Linked DNA regions of Homo sapiens: regions 1 and 3 are each linked to region 2. Evidence: promoter capture Hi-C in human tissues and cell types (Jung and others, 2019). All regions are on one chromosome and are shown on one strand. Each heading gives the region's core, a stretch centred on a gene start or on the middle of the fragment in contact. The rest is flanking DNA. Distances are from core to core; before and after follow the strand shown.

Region 1 (2,855 bases), core at 331-2,830, 140 kb before region 2:
TGGCAGACCCGTGGTTTGCCAAGAGGGCCTTTCAGACTGGGCCTGCCACCCAGTGAGGGATCTAGGAATGTCACGTGGAGGGGAAATGGCAGGTGGGGCCGTGGATGGAGGGCTCAGCTGGAGGTGTGGAAGGAGTCAAAATTGTATTATTTTTTGTTTACAACACCTGACCCCAACTTGGGACTTGGGATGGCTCACACCTGAGTATGGGAAAGGACCTAGTCACCTTTGAAAGCTTCACTGAGCTCCCCCCAGAGGAAATGGAAAGTCAGAATTGTTTTGAAGTGGGTCAGTGTTTGCCAGTGGGTGAGTAATGCTCAGTGCTCCCAGCTCTTTCCTCCCAGAGAAAGCATTCCTCTATGCATCCCTCTCTTTACCACTAGGCTGGGGGTGCCATCTCTCCGAGGTGCCCAGTGCTTTGCGTACATTTCTTCATTGTTTGATTGGTCTTGTGAGAATCAACTCACAGCAAGACCAATAAGCTTGTGTAGTAACCTATTTCTTTAGATGAGGAAACTGAGTTTCACAGAGACTGAGATTGCTCCAGACCACGCAGCTACTTTGTGGCAGAGCTGGGACTGGAACCCAGGTCTGTGACACTCCAAAGTCCATGTTCTGCGACAGAATTTCTCAAGCATTCAGGTGCATAAGTGATGGCTGGGGTGCCAGCCGAGAGTGCAGATTTCTGGGCGCTGTCCCCTCTTCCTCATCCTAATTCAACAAATCAGAGTTGGGGGCAGGAATCTGCATTTTTGACAAATAACAGGTGATTCGGAAGCGGTTGGGGCAAGGTTGAGAAACACTGACTTGGGGCTCTGTTGTTGTTGTTATTGCTTGAGACAGAGTCTTGCTCTGTCGCCCAGGCTGGAGTGCAGTGGCACGATCTTGGCCCATTGCAACCTCCACCTCCCAGGTTCAAGCAGTTCTCCTGCCCCAGCCTCCCAGTTAGCTGGGATTACAGACGTGTGCTACCACGCCTGGCTAATTTTTTTTTATTCTCCAATTTAAAACTTTTAATTAAAAAGTAAACTTCAATGTCAAAAATGCAAACTTGGGGAGGGCAGAAGTATCACCCACAAGGCTGTCACTTCACACTTGGAGGGTTGCACAGCGGCCAGGCAGAGGCACTCCTCACATCCCAGATGGTGGGCGGCGGCCGGGCAGAGGTGCTCCTCACTTCCCAGACAGGGTGGCGGCCAGAAAGAGGCACTCCTCACTTCCCAGACAGGGCGGCGGCCAGAGAGAGGTGCTCCTCACTTGACACGTGGCTAATTTTTGTATTTTTAGTAGGGATGGGGTTTCACCATGTTGAGCAGGCTGGTCTTGAACTCCTGACCTCAGGTGATCCCGCTGCCTCAGCTTCCAAAGTGCTAAGATTACAGGCGTGAGCCACCACGCCCACCCAGGGCTCTGTTTTATGACGTCAGCCAAAAGAGCAGCAACCTGGTCTGAAAACAGGCGCAGGCTAGGGCCCTGCTGAGCCCTCAAGGGGCGGCCCTCTCCCCTCACTCCGCCTTCACCTATAGAGTGAAACCCAAGAGAAGTAGCCCCATCTCTCAGAAGGCAAAGGACCCATCTTCTGCCTAGAAAATCTCCCATTGCACTTTATAACATTTTCAACCCCCAGAGAGAAACCTGAACCACACCGGAACATTTAGTCATCCCTCAGAGGTTTATGGGCCCCTTGCCATGAGTAGGGGTTGGGACAGATACCACTCAGATGGGTGTAAAGCAGGTTTCTCAGAGATGGGTGCATCAGGACCCTCCTGCTTCAGAATTATCTGAGGGTCTGCTAAGAATGCAGAGTCCTGGGCCCTACCCCAGACCTCCAAAGTCAGAATCCCTGGAGGATGAACTCTGGGAATCTGCATTTTAAATACTCTCCTCAAGCAATTCTGTAGCAAGTAGACGTTTGAGAAGTGGTTTCCTGAGAGTCTGGGAAGGAAAGAAACTGGAAACGCTGTAGCTTTGGGTCCTGCGGGTTAAAGACCACAGTAAGACACCCAAACTACATTTGTCAGCCGGGAATCCCTGGAGTGCAGCTGTGGATTTGTGAAAGGAGAGCTGCACATGGCACGTGGAGGTCTGGGTTTGAATCCTGGCTTGGCTACTCTGTGATTCTGGACCAGTGACTTAATCTCACGGAGCTCAATTCCTCACATGCCAAATGGGATACTCTAGTCCACCTCCCAGCATCACCATGAGGACCTAGTGAGCATGCCGCAGCTCCGAATGAACAGCGCGGGCTTGTGCTGCCAGGAGCTCATTCTGCATGATGTGGCTCTAGGCAATGCCATCAATGGGCTCCTAGTAGCCTCAAGCTGGAGCAGACCCACTTCACTCTGCTGGGGAGCCAAGGGCTGGGGTGGGGTGGCTGGTTAGAGTTCAAAATCAGACTCTGGACCCATGGGGTGGCCCAGGGTACCCAAAGAGGGTCAGGGGTCAAGCTGTGCCTCACAAGACCCTGAAAAGGAAAGTGTAACCCTAGCAGGATAGCCTCGTGGTTAAGGGCATAGGCTCTAGAGCCAGAGGGCTCAAATCCTGGCTAGTGTACTTGCTAGCTGAGCGACCTTGGGCCACTTACTTCACCTCTCTGTGCCTCAGTTTTCTTATGTGTAATATGGAGATATAAAAAACATACCCACTTCCCTGACACAGGGGAAAAGTCCTCAAAATATGTCACACAATATTAGCCATTATTGACTATTAATGGAAGGATTTTATGCATGGGGAGTCTTTTAATAGTTGACTTCATAGTTGTCTGTGTCTGTGCAGGGCTGTGTGCCCTCCACATCCAAGTTTCTCCCTGGCTGCCCTAATCTGGAGATAATGCTGAAAATGGAGCCAGATGTCCA
Region 2 (2,946 bases), core at 393-2,892:
CGTCCCACTTATCCCCTACAATATGCTGCTCTATGGGTTTCCTCAGGCTTCCCGTCTAGCCTGGGCCTCCTGGGCCCTCCCACTCCCACCCCAATAGGCCAGCCTGTTTCCCAGGCCTCGGGCAGGTGAGTCTACACCAAGGCGGTCTCTGCTCTGAAAGGAGATCTGCTAAGTGCCTCAGGAAAGGTAGTCCGAAGCCCCTAGGACCTCAACCCCACCCCTGAGCAAAGGTTCCAGGACCCCAGCAAGGGTCACTGCGGGCCCTGGTCAACTGGCAATGCCCGGCTGCAGACTCCAGGGCAGCAAGACAGCAGCTGGGCTATTCTTAGTCCCTGCTCCACCGGGACCGGGTCTGTGTAACAGCTGAAGGGCGAGTCCTCACCAGGTACCCACCATGCCAAACCCCTCCCTACCCCCAACTCTGGCCCCTTGGAAAAAGAGGAAGCATAGGGAACACGCCCTGGAGTGGGGAAAAGCTGAGCAGGTCAAGAGTGTCTGTCAGGAAGATGGAGGCTGATTCAGAGGTCAAGGGCAAGAGCAACTCACAGGACTGCAGTGCCTGGGGGGAGCGGAAGACTACAGGAAGGCCTGACCCGCACTAGGGAGAAAGCATGCAGGTCCCTGGGGCTTTTCTAGCAAGCCTGCCTAGGCCCAGAGCTCTGAGAAGCTGCACGGGATGCCTAGGTACCACCACATCACACCTGTTTGCCGTTTGCAGAACTCTGTCCTTCCCCACCTGAGACCTGGGAGGCGAGGAGAAAACAGCGGCCTTTCTCTCCCCACAGAGGGGGAAACTGAGGCTGAAAAGGGGACACAGTAACACACACACACACACACACACACACACACACACACACACGGTCCAGTCCCAACTCTGTACCCAGAGCTCGCCCCAGTTCTAAGTCCAAGAGGGCTCAGTCCCCTTTCCCTGTCTTAATAACTCACTCTTCCTCAAGAAAGCCGGCCTGGGCCTGAGCACCCCGCGGCGCCGCGGCCGTCGGCTCCCGTCCCGGCTCCCCCAAGTCCCGGACTGTGCGCGCCGCAGTGACTCATCCTGCCCCTTTCCGGTGAAGCCCAGACAAGAGAAGAAAATAAACGCAACTTTCCAAAGAAAAGTCTGACACGGGAGGCTGCAACAGGAGCCAGCGGCCGGTCCGCCAGCCGTCGGCCCGGCCCGGTCCGGCCCGGCCCGGGGCTCCGGGGAGGGGCCGCTCCCCGCCCACACCGCCGCCCCGCCTGGGACAGCGCGGGCACCTCCTGCCTGCCCGCCCTCCGCGGAAGAAAGCACAGCTCAGCGGGGACCCGTGCAGGCGCCGGGCACTCGGCACCCGCCCCGGCAGAGCGTGTGGGACGCGCCCTCCTCTGGGATTCGCGCGGGGCTCGGCGCGCAGCGCCCCGGACGGCCACGGCGCAGCCCCATCCCGCGGGGCGCAAAACACGCGACAGCGCGGAGCTCGGCCGTGCACTGCTGCTCCCTTTCCCGCGCCGGGACCCTCACCCCTGGGAGAGGAGGGGGCGCGCTCCTACCTGGCCGAGGCGCGCGGCTGTCACCCGGAGCCAGCGCGTGCAGGCTGGTTCCGCCCCCCCTTCCTTGCCCCCCACGCGCGCCAGCCGGCGGCTTTTAAATCTCCAGGTTACTCCGCGGGGGGAGAGAGCATGCGCGCTGGGACTGCCAGGAGGGGGGCGGGGCGAGGCGGGACGGAGGTGGGGGGTGCTGCGAGGGGGGATAGAGGGGTGGGGCTGGTACCCAGGGGAAGAAAGCGGGAGGTCTCGAAGCTGGCTTTGTAGCCGCGCCGCGACGGGCAGCCCCCGCGTGGCTCCCAGACTGCCCTATCATTACCTAGGGCAGGGCACCGCCCCCTCTGTCGCTCGCCACCAAACATTTAGGTGAAAGCTACCCGGCTTCGCGGGGCACCTCCCCTCCCCTACTCGGAGCCAGTCTGCTGCGACCATTACCCAGGCGTGCCATTCTGGCCACCCGATCTCCAGGCAGAGCTGCTCCCTACCTGTCCAGGACCATCCCTTCAAAGGAGATGTCACATTCTCTCCGAATTACCCTTCTGCTCTTTGCTATTCTCCGACGCAGACAGAGCTAACTCAATCCCTCTTTCTGCGCTGAAAACCAAATTCCAATTTTTTTTCTTCTTAAGAGTGTGTACGGGGAAGAATGGATGATAAATTGCCAATGAAATGTTCTCTTTGTCAGCTGTTGAGCAAGGTCCGAACAGATACCTGTTCCAGAATGTCTTTGATGGAGTCCCAGGCTGGCCCTGGGGTTGGGGGTTGGGGGGCAGTTTTGTCTTTTTTTCCTCCATGGAGTTTTATTGGGTGGAGAGAAATCCAATTTAGTTGGATTGTTGACTTGAATACTACAAAGTCCCAGGAAGATGCCTTCGAAGGGGAAGACCTGGTTGGCCTTAGCCAACCAGGCACTGGGGCACTGGGTTCCAATGCTGGCCCTGTGTCAACAGCCGTATAACGTGGGCCAAGTCCCTTCCATGTTCTGGGCCTCTGTAAGAGGGGGTGAGCCAAATGATTTCTAAGGGCACCTTCCAGCTGAGAGGTAGAAGGAGGCAGAGAAGAAAGGGAGATAGAGAAGGGAGAGGAAATAGTGGCGCCCTGGTGGTAGTGGGGAACAGAGAGCAGGTGCCAGAGAGAGTTGAGAAGAGAAAAATCAAGAATCTACCTTCTGAGTCACTAAACAAGTTTAACTTGAAAACTGTCTCAGCGTTGCCTCCCTGGAGCAGACACACCTCTACCTGGGGACCCTCCTGGAGATGGCTTTCCAAAGTCTTTGGCATACCCTCTCGTGGCAAGCAGAGAGACTAGGGTGGAGTCCAGGGTCTCTGAGCTGGTGTCCCCTCTCCTCCAGGAAAGAGGTCAGGAGTCAGGGGAAATTTCAGGTCAGCTGGAAAATTACAGAGCCAGGAGAGAGTGGACGGTGGT
Region 3 (2,885 bases), core at 251-2,750, 240 kb after region 2:
TCCTGCTGCAGCTCCTGCAGGGAGACAGTCTGGAAGGGTGGGGACAGTGGGCAGAGTCAGGGACCACCAGACTGAGCCAGACCTTGCTGTGACTGAAGCAGGGGCATGGAGGGTGTAGGTGTAGGGGAATAACTCGCCTCGGTGATGGTGAACACAGACCCTGAAAGCTCCACCAGAGAGGCCTCTCCCAAAGCCCTTTCTTAGGCAGGGCCTGCAAACTTGGTCTCCTACAACCCAGACAAAGTCAGAGGACCCAGCCAAGAGAGGCACTGAAGCCTCAAGCCCACTCTCTCTGGGAGAAAGCCCCTCCGGGGACACTGAGCTCCTTTATTTCTTGAGACAGAGTCTCCCTCTGTTGCCTAGGCTGGAGTGCAGTGGCACTATCTCGGCTCACTGCAACCTCTGCCTCCCGGGTTCAAGTGATTCTCGTGCCTCAGCCTCCTGAGTAGCTGGGATTACAGGTGCCCACCACCACGCCTGGCTAATTTTTGTGTATTTTTAGTAGAGACAGCGTTTCGCCACGTTGGGCAGGCTGGTCTCGAACTCCTGAACTCATGAGAGTGATTCTCCCATCTCGGCCTCCTAAAGTGCTGGGATTACAAGGATTACTGCCATGGCCACCCCAGCCTTGCTAGCCCTGGGCTGCCTGGGTTCCCCAGGAAATTCACTGCTGTTCCCCCTCTGGGTTGTTCAAAAGTCCATGGGCCATGTCCTATCTTAGCCAGAAAATGGAGAAGGGCCTTGGGGGTTCAGTGGCTTCCCTGGGAGATGGTAGCACCTCATCCAAGAAGAAAAATGCCCAGGCTGGGCGCAGTGGCTCAGGCTTGTAATCCCAGCACTTTGGAAGGCTAAGGTAGGTGGATCACCTGAGGTCAGGAGTTTGACACCAGCCTGGCCAACATGGTGAAACCCAATATCTACTAAAAATACAAAAATTAGCTGGGTGTGGTGGCACCTGTAATCTCAGCGACTTGGGAGGCTAAGGCAGGAGAATCGCTTGAACCCCAGAGGTGGAGGTTGCAGTGAGCCAAGATAACGCCATTGCACTCAAGCCTGGGTGACAAGAGCAAAATTCCATCTCTAAAAAGAAAAAGAAAAAAAAGAAGAAAAATGCCCAGCGGCCACCAGGCAGTGTTCCCAGAGACTTTCTGTCTTTGCCTGTCAGGGTGGGAAGCGGGGCCCCCAGGGTACCATGAGTAACAGGGGGCAGTATCAGAATGGGCAGGAGAGCAGGGCACGGGGCTGCTTCTGGCCTTCATTCACCTTGGTTTTCATGAATAGAGACCTCCTCTGTTGTGTGGGCCTCATTCTCCGCTTCTCCTGCTTCTTGAGGTATTTTTGCTTGGCTAGTAATACTTTCTGGGGGTCCATGCCTGTCTGCAGGGAGAGAGCCAACAGCAATCTTGACCTCCACCCTCTATGGGAGTGGCCTATTCTCAGCTCCCACCGCCCTTCTGCTTCCATTTTCCGGCCACTCTCTGTCCAGAGCCTCTGGTCGCCAGGGACTGAGCCTTACCTTGGCGATGACCTTTTGCCTGAAGATCTCTGAGTTGGCAAAGTAGAGAGGGGAGCAGTACGTGATGATTTTAATCCCCTGGATATCCTGGGCCTGTGACAGGGAGACTGAGCTCAAGTTGCAGAAATGTCTTTATTGGCTTTAAAAAGCAACCTCTTCTTGGGGTGGTGCAGAGCAAAAGAAGGAGGTCATAAGCTTGAATTACCTACCCTATTATAGGTCTTGGGATTCACATAAATGTCAGTGTCCATGACCTGGGCCAGTGCATAGCCATTTCGACTGGATGAAGCAGGAAGAGAAAAACATAAGAGAATGCTAATGGCACATGGGCCTGGAAGGGTGCCCCTGCTGGGGCGGGGGCAGAGCCAAGGTAGGATGGGGTCCTGTCCTCACCCCCAGACTTGCTGTGTCTGTCTTTTTGCACTGGAGACACATGTCTGGTGGCCTGTGGCCTCCTATAACTATGAGGATGACAGGCAGGTCCTTGACATAGCTCCCAGACCACAGGGCAGGGGAGAGAAGTGGTGGGAGAAGTGGTGGGAGTCGCCCTGAAGTCATCATTTCCTTGTTCTGAGTTCTCAAGAAGAGAAGATAGGATTCCCCCAACATTCAGCGTACTCCCTGCCTGGGCCAAGACCCCTTCTCTGTAATACTCCCAGTGTGTAGAACACAGCTTCTGTCTTCCACCCTGGCGCTCTCCTGGGGTGGGGTCCCATTTGGTTTGGGGTTCTGGCAATGTCTTTGGAAGGATGTTGAATCTCACCACCTGCCCTTGCCCTCCTTTCTCTGCCACTGCCCTCTCCCCAGCCATCCCCAGCAAGAGTATGCTGGCTTTCTCTGGGGTTTTCAAGATATGGGAAGTCAAACAGCCCAGACTGTGCCCACAGTCCTGGCTGGGTTGGGCTCTCTTTGGGCCTGGCAGCACCTCCAGTGCCAGGCCCAGAGGTGGAAGGTACAGTGGACTAAGCCAGGCCGTGGCATGGAAGCCCTTTGCGGGCTGGCCCAGGGAACCGACTGTGGGCCTAGGAGGGCGGAAGCTATCACTTACAACTGAGTCTGGAAGACCACGACCAGGACGGAGAAGGCGACACCCACTGCCACACCATAGGGCAGGCTGAGGAAGAAGGAGGAGAGGAAGCTCACTACCCAGATGCACTGTGAAAAGAGAGATGTCAAAAGCAGACCTGGGGAAAAAACAACCTCTTTCAGGAAGTCTTCCTGGATTAGCCAAGGCCATTCTCTGTTAGTACAACCTCAGAGCCTCTCTTCTCTTTTTTTTCTTTAAATAGCATTTTTTGCAATATTTTATGTATTTGTGCTTTGGTTACACTTTCCTCTTTCCCTTAGATTGACTGTGGTTGCCTGATCT

What was found. The method cuts DNA at HindIII sites, captures the fragments that hold promoters and counts their contacts. A contact is called where the count stands out against the background at its distance.
Region 1: a contact is called between a fragment that was not itself captured here and the fragment with the promoter of SLC45A3 in region 2, in 1 of the 25 tissues and cell types used here (aorta).
Region 3: a contact is called between a fragment that was not itself captured here and the fragment with the promoter of SLC45A3 in region 2, in 1 of the 25 tissues and cell types used here (aorta).

What each region holds. Positions count from the first base shown.
Region 1 is chr1:205,543,904-205,546,758 of GRCh38, forward strand. No RefSeq gene overlaps it. Among named protein-coding and RNA genes, the nearest start is that of SLC60A1, 24 kb to the right of the region's middle. The HindIII fragment of the contact is 8,375 bases long and covers 1-2,855 here.
Region 2 is chr1:205,678,867-205,681,812 of GRCh38, forward strand. It overlaps SLC45A3 (solute carrier family 45 member 3), which reads right to left and starts at 1,643. Exons shown (of 5, transcript NM_033102.3): 1 at 1,528-1,643. It overlaps LOC105371701 (a long non-coding RNA gene), which reads left to right and starts at 1,504. Exons shown (of 4, transcript XR_007066825.1): 1 at 1,504-1,633. RefSeq lists a silencer at 1,188-1,407. The HindIII fragment of the contact is 16,856 bases long and covers 1-2,946 here.
Region 3 is chr1:205,921,819-205,924,703 of GRCh38, forward strand. SLC26A9 (solute carrier family 26 member 9) reads right to left here. Exons shown (of 21, transcript NM_052934.4): 13 at 2,565-2,671; 14 at 1,726-1,795; 15 at 1,517-1,609; 16 at 1,264-1,377; 17 at 1-29. Among named protein-coding and RNA genes, the nearest start is that of SLC26A9-AS1, 12 kb to the right of the region's middle. The HindIII fragment of the contact is 3,074 bases long and covers 1-2,885 here.